2 separate regions of the Homo sapiens genome follow, and region 2 is linked to region 1. The links are contacts of gene promoters, found by promoter capture Hi-C in human tissues and cell types (Jung and others, 2019). All regions are on one chromosome and are shown on one strand. Each heading gives the region's core, a stretch centred on a gene start or on the middle of the fragment in contact. The rest is flanking DNA. Distances are from core to core; before and after follow the strand shown.

Region 1 (7,511 bases), core at 3,642-6,141:
CTCAAAAAAAAAAAAAAAATTGGCAAATTCCTCTTAGCTATAATTTAGCTAATTTTAGATGAAATAATAACAATGACATGAAAACTTTATTACAGACATTTCAAAGCATCCAGTTAACATTTCATACTTTATAGGTGGAGAACTGAAAGAAATGGAAAGAATTGAAAGAAAGTTTAAAGGGGTGAGGAATGGGGAACTGTATTACAGTAATCAAGTTATTCAAAAAGTCTGCAAGTCCTTGCTGTGTCTTCTGAAGTTGTGGCCAGATAGAGGTAGAAACCAAAATAATTTTTTTTTTTTTTTGAGCTGGAGTCTCGCTCTTTCGCCCAGGCTGGAGTGCAGTGGTGCGATCTTGGCTCACTGCAAGCTCCGCCTCCCGGGTTCACGCCATTCTCCTGCCTCAGCCTCCCAAGTAGCTGGGACTACAGGTGCGTGCCACCACGCCCGGCTAATTTTTTGTATTTTTAGTAGAGATGGGGTTTCACCATGTTAGCCAGGATGGTCTCGATCTCCTGACCTCCTGATCCACCCACCCCAGCCTCCCAAAGTGTTGGGATTACAGGCGTGAGCCACCATGCCTGGCCAAACCAAAATAATTCTTATTTCACATTTCCAGCCTAACTTCTCTTCCTGAGTTTAGTCTATTAAAAATATATGACACCAATGTTCATAGTGGCATTACTCAAAATGGCCAAAATATGGAAACAACCCAAATGTCCACCAACAGATAAGTGGATAACAAAACGTAGTATATATACACAATGAAATATTATTCAGCCTTAAAAAGGAATGAAGTACTGATCCATGCTACAACATGGATGAGCTATGAAGAGATGCGAAGTGAAATAAACCAGATACAAAAGGATACAGATTGTATGACTCCACTTATATGAGGTATCAGAATAGGCAACTTCATAGAGACAGAAAGTAGAACAGTGGTTACCAGGGCTGAGAGGAATGGGGAATGGGGAGTGATTGCATAATGGGTACAGAGTTTCTGACTGGGATGATGGAAAATTTGGGAAATGGAAAGTGATGATAGTTGTGTAATATTATGAAAGTACTTAGTGCCACTGAATTGTATACTCAAAATGGTTAAAATGATAAATTTTATGCTATGTATATTTTACCACAAAAAAAAAAAAACATCAAAATCGGAACCACCCGCCGGGCACGGTGGCTCATGCCTGTAATCCCAGCACTTTGGGAGGCCGAGGCGGGTGGATCACGAGGTCAGGAGATCGAGACCATCCTGGCTAACACGGTGAAACCCCATCTCTACTAAAAATTCAAAAAATCAGCCGGGCTTGGTGGCGGGCGCCTGTAATCCCAGCTACTTGGGAGGTTGAGGCAGGAGAAGGGTGTGAACCCGGGAGGCGGAGCTTGCAGTGAGCTGAGATTGCGCCACTGCACTCCAGCCTGGGCGGCAGAGCAAGACTCCGTCTCAAAAAAACAAAACAAAACAAAACAAAACAAAACAACAACAACAACAAAAATCGGAACCACTTCCCTTCAATTCCCAGTTGGAATTTCTAAACTGTATTTTGTTCATTCATTCCCATTAAAGCCGAATTTCTTCTCAAGACCTGCTTAAAGCCAACAGTGTCATGGACAATCTACATACATTCATAAGCACAGGTACACAGCCACACACAGGCTACTTTGTGTCCTGCAGTGACCCATCCACAAACATGTATCCGTCCCAGGACTTTGTTGATCACTCCAAAAAGAGGGCCCATGGCAAGCATTACTGGAGATCCAGGTAACCAAATAAACACCCTGTCTCAGCTCAACCCTTCAATTTCTCACCATGGGGGAATACGTATTCAGTATATAGATATTTTATCTATAAAGAAAACTGCATGCATATATACCAGAAAGACCATCAGGAATTGCTCACCCAAGTCTGTTCCACCAGGCCTGTGAACAAAGAGATTTCAGCCCATATATGGCTATTTTGGTGAAGTTAGCAATTTCAAGTTACACTGAACAGTGGGTGTCCTTAATGCAAATATGTATAATTAGGAGCTAAATCTTCGTACCTTTATAGGACAAAGGACCTAATAAGCGGGATGTACCACCTGTGACTTCTGAGGAAAGGAGAGCTTTTCATTTTTTCTTAAAAGAATCCGTTTCTCAGCCAGGCACGGTGGCTCATGCCTGTAATTCCAGCACTTCGGGAGGCCAAGTGGGCAGATCACGAGGTCAAGAGATCAAGACCATCCTGGCCAACATGGTGAAACCCCGTCTCTACTAAAAATACAAAAATTAACTGGGTGTGGTGGCACGTGCCTGTAGTTCCAGCTATGCAGGAGGCTGAGGCAGGAGAATCGCTTGAACCCGGGAGGCGGAGGTTGCAGTGAGCCAAGATCGTACCACTGTACTCCAGCCTGGCGACAGAGTGAGAATCCGTATCAAAAAAAAAAAAAAAAAAAAAATCTGTTTCTCATGAGGCAAAGAGAATCTGAGAACAACAGTCTTCTGAAATAGAAACAGGGACTGGGGGGAAAGGATGTGAGTTTTGTGTGTGATAGTCATAACGCATCACCCAGACCTGAGAGGTGACAATCCTGTGCTATACCATGACCTTTACTCAACTTTAATTTAAAGATTTCCACAGCCTCATCATCTTTTATGGACACGTTGCCAGTAGCCTGATAACTGGGTCTTGCAAGCACTTAGAGATCTCAAGAGTTTGTGTGTGAAGAAAAATAATCTCTAGTGATGCTTCCCACTGCCAACACACATGAACATTTAACACAAATAAGCTGCCACTTGTAAGAAGTCCACTTGACATCAATCCCTCGTGCATCCTGAAGACACCTGTCAAGATCACACTAAGATATTTAGAAGCAAACATCTTTAGAATAATGTTTTGTTCCCAAAGTGCTTAATTAGCAGAAACATTATGCTAGGGAACTGTCCTTGAATATGTACGCATTTTAACCTTCATGTTATTTTTTCTGAAGCACAAAATTTCCTCTCAGTGGATGGTCAGGAAATGATTGGGCACAGAAAACCAACCATCTGAAGTGTTGATTCATAAAATGAGTTCCATCTTTCCACGCAGGCTTCAGCTGCCTTCCAGGGTGACATCCCTTTTTATGAGGGGGACCATTCTTTGGCATCTAATGGCCTTTTCTCCATTCATTTGGGATGACCAATGCACCTATGGCCTACTTATGTCTGAACTCTTTCAATACCACCAACCTCTTCTGTCCCCTTGTGCCATCTTCCCACCCCCAATTTCAGCCAATTATGTTTATAAGACATCAGTTAGTGAATCACAATTCAAATGAATCCACCTATTTGCTTAGCAGCAAGTGGCCCCCGGAGTTGCTCCATTTGAAGCCCATAGGCCAGAGTTACATACGGCAGGCTTGCAAATGAGAACAGGATATGATTTATTTATGACGACCATATGTGTTTGATGCCCAATTGCAGCAGGTTGTGGCTTCTCTTGCATATCTTGGTCTGGGATGACCTATCTACTCAGTGTGTCCCATTTCAGGTACCGTATTTCCATGCTGGGAAAAGAGAGATGATGACTGCTGAGGGGCTGCACATACAGATGCTCCTAACCCTGCTTGCCACATAACAATCTGTGACCAAATGCAAAGTGGGCCAAATGTAACTTGCTGCAAAGGTTTGCCATGTACAATGGTTTTCAGTGGTGAGTGGAGAAGTAGCTGCTGGAATGACTGACCATGTGGGGTTCATTAAGCTGTTGTGCATTCACCCACGAGAAAGGCTGGGATGCTTGTGAAGGGAACTCCACTCTTCATTTCAGAAATTTTAACGCCCCACCATTTGGCAATGATGCTCCCAAGGAGAATGGCAGATATGCATCAGAAGGTTCAAACGTGGAGTCCAACTGAAGTGCAGTAAACTTCTGCCTTCAACAGTCTCACCCCCCTTTACCCCCCCCCCAGTTGTATTTATACTTTGAAAGAAGTTAACATGAAGCAGTAGTCACCTGGGCGTGCTCAATTTTTGACAAGCCTTAGTCACTCTGTACCCAGCAGAACAATTCACATTATATTCGAAATCCTGTGAAGATTCTGCCACACATGCTAACACTAAAATGCCAGTAGCTCCACTTACCTTCTTTATTAAGCCTCATAACCTCCCTGCTTTTTCCACCCTCTTTTCCAGCCTCTTCTAAATCTACATCTGCAGATGAAAAAGAAAAGGAAAACAGAAAATAAGGAAAAAAGGGGGGAAAAAAGCCAAAGTCAAGGGGGGAGGGAGAGTGTTTATTTGCAAACAGATCGATATAAATACTGTATATGAAATTCTTTCAAAAATTGACAATGCAACATTTTCTCCCAAGTCTGGGTTTCCATCTACCTGGCCCAGATAGGTACCCAAAAAACTATGCAAGCAGCAACAAAGTAGCCTTTTAAACGGACAACACCGTGGGGCTGCGAGCCCACCCCGCGGGCTGCCACGGGGAGCCGGGCACAGACAGACAGACAGCCCTGGCAGCCGGGCCTCTCCCTGTGCATTGATGATCTGTCTCTGTGTGTATTTATTTAGAGAGAGAGGGAGAAGCATGGAGGACACCGGGGGCCACTCTCTCTCTCACACACACACTTTTTCCCAGTGGCTCTAGGTGAATGGAAAGGTTACAGGATAATAAAAGGAGGAGGAGGTGGTGGGGTTCTTACTGTCGGAGCAGTGTAATTTGGCGGCGTCGATCCAGGAGGACCAGGGTTTGCCCAGAAACGCCTCCGGACTGGGCACTTTGCGATCCAGTGTCGCCATTGCTCTTCCTTCTTGTTGCTTTTTCCCTGTTCCTTCGGCAGCAGCAGCCGAGAGACACGGGATTCGAGAACGCTCCGACGTCATCTTCGGAACGTTCCGACATTGAGTGTTCTGAAAGGGGGAGGGAGGGAGGAAGGGCGGGATGGGAGGAGGGCGGCGGAGGAGGAGGGGAGAGGGAGCGGAGGAGGGGCGGGCGCTCGGGCTCCCGGAGCCGGCTCGGTGGGGCTCGCGCGCCCGCGGCCGCCAGGGGCAGCAGAGAGGCACCTGCAGTCCGCGCCCGCCCGCCCGCCGGGGCCGCCCGCCTGCCGGGGAGGGGCAGCGCGGACGGGCGAGCGCCGCGTGCGGGAGAGCGAAGGCTGCAGCGCGCCCGGCAGCCGGGATGCAGCGGCGCCGCCCAAGCCTGGGGCGCAGGGGTCGGGGCACACGGGGATAGGCCCGACGCGGGGCCGAAGGAAGGGTGGTCTTTCCCGCAGAGTTGCCGCTGGAGGACCGAAAGTTTTGCAGGCAGCCCTTGCTTCCAGCTTGTCGCTCTCTCCCCGCGTCCCTGTCGCCCAACGCGAGGCGCCCCCGCTGGGGTCCCGACGGCTTGGTGGGGAGGAGCCGTGAGGGGTTGCGCCCCCCACCCCCACCCGAGCCAGGGAAGGGACCCTGGTGACCTCGCCTCCCAGCCCTCACCCCCGTCACCCCTTTCTTCTCTTTCCTGGAGGACTTTGGACCATGGAGATTCTGCAGTTGTTGCTCTAGGAGCTGAAACCAGTGGGTAGATGTCGTTCTGAAACGCAGGTGAGTTTGGAGCGCTACGAGCTACCTTCCCATCTCAGGCTGCGGGGCGTGCAAAACTCAAAAGTTAGGGCCCCCGGACCCCCGGGTTCCCCGCGCGGTGCGTATCTCCGGCTCTCAGAGAACCACTGCATGGACTTTGCTCCAGGGTCAGCAGAGCGGGAGGGCGAATTTACGGCTCTTGGAAGACGACGCTAACGGGCCTAGCCCCTGAGCCGTTTCCAGCGCTCCCTGCCGTGAGACGAGGGTGGCCCGGGTTTGCGCAGGCAACCTTTGGCCAGGAATCTGATTCCTGGGAGAATTCACTTCAGGCTTAACTGCTCTAGCCAGCTAGAAAGGGAGCGCTAGATTTCCTCTGGATTTTGGACGTTGGGTGCTTTAGTTGAGATTTTCACCCTTTAAAGAAGGCTTTAAAAAGTCTTCTGTTACTTCTTTTTAACAAATCCTTTTGTTTACTAGAATTATCTAAACTATATGGACACCGCCCTCACCCCACAAGCGACATATTTTTTTTTCTCTTTCGCCAGCACCCTTTTAGCTCTCACCACTGCTGTTTCCCAAGTTGTCACAGCTGAAGCGCACTGATTGGAAGTTGCTTTGTACTGACTGAGTTCTGCCCTGGCTGAACCATCTAATAATTTCCCTGAGCTTGGCACCCTGTATCGCTAAGCCAGTGTTAGGATGGGCGATGAAGGAGGAGCTGCGGATTTGCCTTTAGTTGTGATGTTTGTGTGAGTCGGCTTGTTTGTGTCAGACTCAGATAAACTGCATTTGCCTTTGCTCTCTTTCGAAGGGCTCCTACATAGCTAAGGTGTCGCTGGGTGAAGAATTCCCATTGTAAGAATTGGTGGTGTTAACAAATATGTATTACTTGTTGACCTCTTGTTATATGCTAGACCCTGGGCTTGACATTTCCTTCCTTCCTTCCTTCCTTCCATCTGTCCATCTTAAGTCAACCAATATTGCCTGTCATGGAACAGCTGTGCCCTCCTGTCAGGAGGGAAAGATGAGTGAGACCCATCCTCACCCTCACAGAGATGCAGTCTGGTGGTCTCTGGAAGAAGGAAGTTGTGAAACTTACCGATTCCTTGGGAAAACAGGCAGGTACACAGGGACTGGCCTGTGCAGTGGGTGGGGTGGTCTCTCAGCTGTGCCAGTTCATAGAGGAACCGAAATCTAGTTAGGAGTGAACAGAAACTGCGTAACAGAAGATGGGCTCTGCTCTGCATCTTGGAAATTGCCAAAGATTTGTAATGGTAAGGTGAAGACTGGTCTTGCGGAGGGAGGGGGAATAATGGTATTAGCAGAGGCTTCAAGCTGAGTATAAACATGGTGTGTTTGGGTGTTGAGCATGGTTTGCCTGGGATGGAGAATTGTTACTGGGGGCTTGGGGGTGATGCATTTTGATACCCAGGCCTGGATCAAATTATGGAAGGCACCAAACGGCAGCCTAAAGAGTCTGGATTTTGTTTGACAATGGGGAGCTACTGAAGGGCTTTCTGTACCATAAAGATAAGTTAAAAGTGTGAGTTAGAAAGATTGGAGTACGGAGCCTGGTTAGAAAAGTAGTGCTGCAATATTCATGGTGTGAAGAGATGAAAGCCTGAACTTTGGTGGTGCTATGCAGGTAGAGAAGAGGAGACAGGTGTGAGACTGTGAAGAGAGCACCTGATCAGAGGGTGTGCTGTTGGGCTAGATTTAGAGGTGGGGAGAGAGAATGCGAGAGCTCTGAGGCATGAGTAATTAGATGCTGGAACACTTTCCCTTTCCCTTCTGCTTCCCTATTTTCCCTCTATTTATTATCTATTTTGATGTTTATTCCTGTGTTGTTGTGCATGCAAGGAAGGTGTAGGCAGCAGCTAATGTGGCCCCAAAGGTCTGTACCTCCTGGTGTTCATGCCCTTGTGTAATCCTCTTTTCTTTAGTGTGGGCTAGACTTAGTCACTTGCTGATAACAAAGAGAA
Region 2 (7,511 bases), core at 1,757-4,256, 180 kb after region 1:
GCTCCTTTAAAGGCCTCCTCTCAGCTTGTCTCCAGTTCACTGCCTAAGAATGTCCTCCAGACACAGGCTCTGAGGCCAGAGCTATTGAATATTTATCAAGGCCTCCTGGCAGACGTGGGAGACTGAGAACAGGAAAATCAGGCCCAGGCGGGCATCTGTGGAGCCTGCCTGGGTGCTAGCCAGATGCTGCAAGATTCAAGTTGCCCGTTGACTCTGCAGAGCCTGCCCCGCCCTGTCCTCCCTCCTCGGGGAGGCGTGCATGGGCCTGGCTGCTGTCAGGGTGTTTGCTTCTTGTCACCATCCTCCATACTGACTTCCATTGCAAGCCCTGCCCCACTGTGGCTCCATTGTCTGCAGTGGCCTGGGCTGACCAGCTCAGCCTGGAGCCCTGCCCTGGGACGATGCGGGCTAACACAGTGACACAAAGCCCTGCTTTGTGGCCCTGACAGGAGGATTTATCATTAGCTGTGAGATGGTCCCTGGCAGATCCTGGCATGTGGTGAGCAGACAGATCTGTGCTGATCACAGTATTTTGAGTACCCCCAGTTGAATACAGCATCTGGGGCCCTCAAATCTGCCACATGGATCTTATGGCTTCAGGCTCACTGGCACCTTTTGTGTTGGCCGAAGTACGGGTAGGGGGTAGATTAGGAGCACTAGCTTGTACCCAGTGACGTCTGGGGGCTGGTTTACAGGAAAGGCACCCTAAGGTTGTGCAGGCCCTGACATGTGGTCCTCCTGGCATCTGGGGACAGCATGTCAGGTTTGGGGTCTGCCCATCCTTGCCTTGGGCACAGGTCCCCAAACAACAGCAGCATCCCTGTGGGTGGGATATCTGACCAGCAGAAAATGGAAGTGAATATCTCTTTGATCTTGGAGTGAGGAAGAATTTCTTAAAAATAACACACCAAAAAATCACAAATCATAAAAAAGAAAGATTCATGATTTCAACCACGTTAAATTTAAGAACCTTGGTTCATCACAGGTATTTTAAAGAAACTCAGAAGATAAGCCACAAGCTGGGAAAAGATATGTGTAGCACTTAAGTGACAAAGGATTAGCTTCAAGAATATATCGAGTCCTGAATGCCTGGTGGGGTGGAGGGAGTGGGAAATAGACAGATAGTTCAGAAGAAAAATGGGAAAAAAATATGAATAGGCATTTGACAGAAGAGGCAACACATAGGGCCAGTCAACATAGGGATGTGCTAACCTAGTCAGTGTCCAGGAAATTGCAAAACAGGCAGTGAGATCCATTTCCTCCAGTCTGTTTCCTCCAGTCTCTCTCCGGGGCCTGGAGATGCTCCTTGGATGGTTCTCAGTGGCCCTGGTCCTCTCCCTGGGAAGCCTGGCCTGTCAGGCTCTGCAGAGCCCTCTGTTTTGTCCTTCCCCCAATATCCTCCCACTCAGAGCCTGAGTCTGCCCCTGCCCCTTCCCTTCCTGTCCTCACCAATGGCGAGTGTGGCAGATCCTCCAGTTTCTAGAAACACCTCCTCACTCCATCTTCATCCTTTCCTTTGATGTTTCCCCAGGTCTTATCCGGCCAGGTGGGCTTTAGGGAACATTTTTCTTCCCCCTTTGAAGCCAGGGTCTCGCTCTGTTGCCCAGGCTGGAGTGCAGTGGCACAATCTCGGCTCACTGCAGCCTCCGCCTCCCAGGTTCCAGCAATTCTTCTGCCTCAGCCTCCCAAGTAGCTGGGATTACAGGCATGCGCCACCACGCCTGGGTAATTTTTGTATTTTTAGTAGAGACGGGGTTTTGCCATGTTGGCCAGGCTGGTCTTGGACTCCTGACCTCAGGTGATCCACCCACCTCGGCCTCCCAAAGTGCTAGGATTACAGGCATGAGCCACTGCACCCGGCCTAGAGAGCATATTTTCAATCAGAAAAGTAGTTCGCTGCACCTCACAAGCCCAACACTGAGTTCCAGGAGGACCTCAGGACAGGCTATTGATGGTACGGTAAACATGGCTGACAACTAGCACGTTCTAGACCAAGTTCAGGTAGAAAGGGACTCCCTCAGCTGGCCACAAAGCTACCCTCTCCCTAGTGTGCAGCCTTATCAGGCTATTGTCCAAGGCAAAAGCTGTGTGTAACAAGCAGCCCACGCAGCCTGCAGCCAGGTCTGCCAAGGCACCTTTCCTAAGGGGCTGCCCATGTGGCCCGCTCACGCAGGATCTTGCTGGCACTCTTCCTTGGGAGCTTACCTTGTTTGGAAACCTTTCCTGGTTAGCCTTTAAGAGCCTCAACAGGCAGCTGAAAGCATGTCCTGAAATGCCTGAACTCATACTTGGAATGAGAACTAGCTACAGCTTAGTATGCCATGAACGTTTGCATCACTTGTTGTCCAATAAATCTGCGGTCCCCAACCTTTCTGGCACCAGGGACCAGTTTCATGGAAGACAATTTTTCCATGAACAAGGAGGATGGGGTGGTTTTGGGATGAAACTGTTCCACCTCAGATCATCAGGCATTAGATTCTCATAAGGAGTGCACAACCTAGATCCCTCGCATGCACCGTTCGCAGTAGGGTTTGTGCTCCTATGAGAATCTAATGCTGCCATGATCTGACAGGAGGTGGAGCTCAGGCAGCAACGCGCACTCACCCACTGCTCACCTCCTGCTGTGTGTCCCAGTTCCTAACAGGCCCTGGGGGTGAGGGATCCCTGCAATACATAACACGTGCTAAGCAGTGGGGTTTGGGTGCTACTTCCCAACTGGCCGCTCTTAGGAACTGGTGAAACCTTAAGTCAGGTGTGACTGAGCGAGCCCCTGGGTCATGGCTATTCTCCTTGCTGCTCTGCTCTCCTAAGTCTGGTTTGAGGCTCCTCTCCCTCCCTGGCGTCCCACCCTGTATGTCTCCTAAGCCAGTCCAGCTTCCAAGGGTCGCTGTTGTTTCTCATGGCCTTCATGAAAACAGCGGGCAGGGCATGTCTCTGGCCTGTGATGGCTCCCCGCTATAGTCCTTGTCATCTGTATATCAAGGAGATTTTATTTCTTTCTTTCTCAGTTCCTCTTTCTTTCTCTCTTTTTTTTTTTTTTCCTGTTTTTCCTTCACTCAACAAATCAAGCTTCCATTAGGCACAAAGAGTCTTGTAGACACTTGAGGACATACCAGTGAACAAAATAGTCTTAAATCCTTGCCCTCATGGAGATTCTATTCCGAATGGGAGACAGGAAATAAGCAAAATAAAATGTGAAACCTATGACAGGGTGAAAGCGATATGCAGTCCTGAGAATAACTTTTATTTGCATGGCACCACAGCTGCAAAAAACAGTGCATTTCACTAACCCCTTATGGTATCAACCATGGATGGGGCAATCACTACAGGCCAAGCATTGCATTTACATCACTTCAGAACCCCTGTGGGAGGTGCTGTCCTATCCCAGTATACAGATGAGGACACTGGCACACAGGGAGACTCAATGACTTCCCATGATCATCCATCTGCTAAGAAGTGGAGTCTGGATTCGAACCTGAAGCCGTGGGACTCCAACGTCTTTGTTCTTTGTCACTGTACAATATGCCTCCCAGCTTCTGTCCTGGCTGCCTCCACAATCACTCAGCAGCCTCTGTACTGCATACACCACAGCGGGAGGTAGTGCGTGGCTGCTGAACATATGGGTGACGAAAGGGGTTTTCTGGTGGGACTGAAGTGCCACTGTCCCTCTTACGTGCAGAAGGCCCTGCCTGCCCTGCATGCCACCATCTAACCTAGTCCTGCCAGCAGCTGCCTGGTGGTGGCTTTGCAGCCCTGTTACAGCCCCTGCTGGGTGCATGATTCACAGGGGTGCAGTGTTGCCTTGCCCAGGCTCAGGCCCTGGCCTGCACCAGCCTGAGACAGAGCACTGGGTCAGAGGTGCCTTCTGTGGCTCCACTGCCCAGGGCATCAATGGAGCAGGGCCTACGGCGAGCCTCTGTGTGTGTCGAGACAGCTAGAACTGTTACTGGTGGAGGGTCTTGACTGCAAGTTGTCCAGGTTCTTGGTGTTCTGAACGAAGAATTGGACAAAATGCACAGCAAAGAAAGGAAAGAATGAAGCAACTAAAGCAGAGATTTATTGAAAATGAAAGTACACTCCACAGGGTGGGAGCAGGCCTGAGCAGCGGTTCAAGGGTGCTGGTTACAGGATCTTCAGGGGTCCAAATACCCCCTAGAGGTTTCCCATAGGCCACTTGGTGTACACTTCATGCAAATGAAGTAGTGGCCTGCAATCAGTCTGATTGGTTGCAGAAATCAACCAAATCGGACAGGTGGGGGTGTTTACAAAGGGAGTAGCCTCTGGTCCTTTTGTTACTTAGGTGTGGAAAGTTGGGGTTTCCCTTTTGATTTAGTTCTAATTAGTCAGTGTGAATCAGCCTTAGGTTCCCTGCCTCCAGACCCTATTCTCCTGCCTCAGAACTTGCCTGGGCAAGACTAAAGGTGGTCTCACAGTCCAGAGAAGCCACAGTAGGGGCCAAGGGAAAAACTTCTTTGCCCTCTGTATGTTCATGGAAAAATCATCTCACAAAATGCAGATTAATAAAAGAAAAGGCAGACAAATTTGTTAATGTGCACATGGGGGAGAACCACAGAGTGATTACCTCCACCCTCCACCCTCCACCCTCCTCCACCCTCCTGTCTAAATAAGCTCTTCTTCTAGGCAAACTGGTGGGGGGAATTGATTCACTATCCTCAGAAATTAGGAAGCATGAAATTATGCTGGCTCTGCTACTGGGGAACAAAGAGCAGGGGCGTGGTGTGCAGCGGCCAGTGCAGGAAGTATAAGTATATATACCATCCTGAGGTTACAGAAAGAATGGGGGCTTGGATCGGGGCAAAATAGGTTATGGGAGGAGAAGATGAGGAGGCCTGGTGAGCCAAGATGATCTTGTTACGTAGACGAAACCTCACAGGGAGCAGCCCCGAGAGAACTGATGGGAAATGTTACTTTCAGACCTTTAAAGGTGTCCCATTTTCAGTTAATTTTTCCTAGATTGGACAAAGGACGACCTCTGAGAAAACCTGAGAAAACCTGGCTGCATCAATGCAGATTCTCTGCAGATGCAAATCTCCCCCAGAAAGACAGCTTTGCAGGGCTCCTTCTGTTTGCAGGCCCTCTGAACAACCATCTCAAATTATGTCAAAGAAGTGTATTTGGGGATGAAACATGTGGATTTCTTTCACCCCCCACCCCCCTGCATCGCTTGTGTACTCTTTTCCCAAAGTGGAGTCTACAGCATGGAGTAGGGGGAGTTGATCTCCAGATATCCATGTCTCTTCCCTGCGCATAGTGACAGGAAACTGAACCCAGGAATCAAAACTCAATATATGAGGCCAGACAATGGTGCTTGTTCCTCCCTCTTGTTGTGAGAAGACATGAAGTGAACTCTGGGGTCATGAGTTACTGTGCTTCGAAAAATAAGCTGTGTGACTTTGGGCAATTGCCCAACCTCTCTGGGACTCAATGCCATTGTCTGTAAAATAGGGCTAAGAACTCCTTTCCTGCCTGCCTCCTAGATTTGTGGTGAGGATCACAGGAAATAATGTATGTGAGTGTGCCCTGTAAACCATAAAGTGCCCTAGTGACATGCACCCATGCACCTCCATCATTCCTGCAGTGACTGAAACTTGGAAATCTCACCAGAATGCATCACTGTGAGACTTGTTGAGAATTAAGTCAAGCAGGGGTTAAATTTGCCAATCACCAGAGCACACTATGTATATTTAAAATCCTCCACTCTTTTAGTAATTGGGGGCAAAAAAGAAAAAAAAAAACATCCACTCTGTCCCAGAATCATTATTCTGTAAAGTTAATGAGTTCCATGAAGGGTCTTTGTGGTGACTCATCCCATCACTTCTTCCACTCCTGCCACCAGGTGAGACCTGGGGAGAGCATCAGGGAGCAGGTGTCTTAAGGATCTGAGGTGCAGGGTGGGGGCTCCCGCAGCGCTGTGTTTAAACAGGGCCCTGCTGACGCCTCACCACGGCCGGCTGGGAAACAGCTGCAGCATAAGGCCTCTCCTCAGGCTAGTGTGGAGCCCAGCAGATGTGCCATTTGCCTCCACAGCAACAGACGTGACCCTAAAACCAGTGAGGTCCCCACCCTGAAAGGCTCCACTGGCTTCTGAGCCTGTGTCTAGAGGGAGTGGGCAAGGATTCCAGGTGCATGGAGAGGTGAACGCTATTACTGACTCCTCTGCTGGCCATATGCTTACTTCCTTTATCCTCCCATCAGCTCTGTGAAGCACCCACCACTTTAGTGCGGAGGAAGCCGAGCCTTAGAGAGGTCAAGGCCTTTATTTCAGCCTCCCAGCCAGCAGGCAGCAGGGCTCCAAATCGGAACCCAGATTTATTGGACCCCAAATCATAGGCTGTGACAGGGCTCGTTATTAACCAGGCCATAAATACTTCCTGAGTCCCTATCCCGTCCCTGGAACTGCTGGGGACATGAAAGGCACAGGAGGCAGGGGCCCGACCTCACGGGGTTGGAGCAGACCTAAAGTGGGATGAGAGCAGAGGAACCCTGCGGCTGGGGCTCTCCACTCTTCCATCACGCTCTGTCCAGCAGGGCAACTGGAGGGAGCCATGAGCATGCGATGACCTGGCGGCTGCTCAGGATGGGAGGGACCACTGTCAGCCAGGACTGGCAGGACTGTGTGAGTCATCCTAGTGGGTGAGGGAGTCTTCCTGGGCTCTGGGAGCTATGAGTCCATGATTCCTGGGCATGTGAGGAAGCTGGTTAGGAGCTCAGCCAAAACTTAAACTCTCAATCCAGCACTCTTTACACTCCCACCACATCTGAGCTGAGACTTGAAGGGGTGGGGCATGGGTGATTCTGGTCCCAGGGACTAGAGCCTGGGGGCTCCCACCTTTTCCTCTGGTTCTGCACTGACCTGCCCTCTGGTTCTGCCCTGACCTGCCCTTGCCAAGCCCACTGGGCCGGCGAACAGTTGTTTCCATTTTCCCTGCAGCCTCTGTTCTGGGAACCAGGCCAGCATTCATAGCCTTTCCCCTCCTTTTCTTTTTGTAATAGAAACTGCTCAGGGCTGCCAGGAGCCAGCAGTGTGCTCCGCGGCTCACCGTTTGGCTGGACTGGAGGTGAAGCTTCTTGGTGGCTCCTTCCCAGCCTTCTATGGAAGCTGGAATCCACTCTCCCGAGGCCATTTCTCCTCCCGGGGTTCCCTCTCTGCAGCCTCAACCCCCCAGTGCCCTTTGTCCCCTAAAGCGAGCAGTTTGTTTTCAGTCCAATACCTCCAGGGGATGGGGGGGGGCGCCTGGAGGAGTGTCCCAGGAGAGGGTCCCACCAGCCACGCTGCCCTGAACCCCCTTAAAATGGGGGTGGTGTGACAGTAACTTAGAGACCACTTAGATGACCTCAGGCATTCTGAGAAATCTAAAGGCTGATCTGAAGCCAGAGGAGGAAAGTTCATTCACCTTTGTCCCAGCCCCTCCCCGACTCCAGGACTCTAGCGTTGGCTGTTTTTATTTGCAGTCCAGCGTCCGGAATGAGCGGAGTTCCTTTTGGGAAGG

The links. Contacts are between HindIII fragments. The study calls those that stand out against the background at their distance.
Region 2: a fragment that was not itself captured here is called in contact with the fragment with the promoter of ATXN7L1 in region 1 in 1 of the 25 tissues and cell types used here (H1 embryonic stem cells).

What each region holds. Positions count from the first base shown.
Region 1 is chr7:105,871,708-105,879,218 of GRCh38, forward strand. ATXN7L1 (ataxin 7 like 1) reads right to left here and starts at 4,892. Exons shown (of 12, transcript NM_020725.2): 1 at 4,671-4,892; 2 at 4,105-4,173. The coding sequence starts at 4,851. RefSeq lists a silencer at 4,935-5,144. The HindIII fragment of the contact is 16,114 bases long and covers 1-7,511 here.
Region 2 is chr7:106,058,465-106,065,975 of GRCh38, forward strand. No RefSeq gene overlaps it. Among named protein-coding and RNA genes, the nearest start is that of SYPL1, 50 kb to the right of the region's middle. RefSeq lists enhancers at 1-327, 11-170, 201-300, 3,745-3,874, 3,905-4,074 and 1 more and a silencer at 641-760. The HindIII fragment of the contact is 4,142 bases long and covers 936-5,077 here.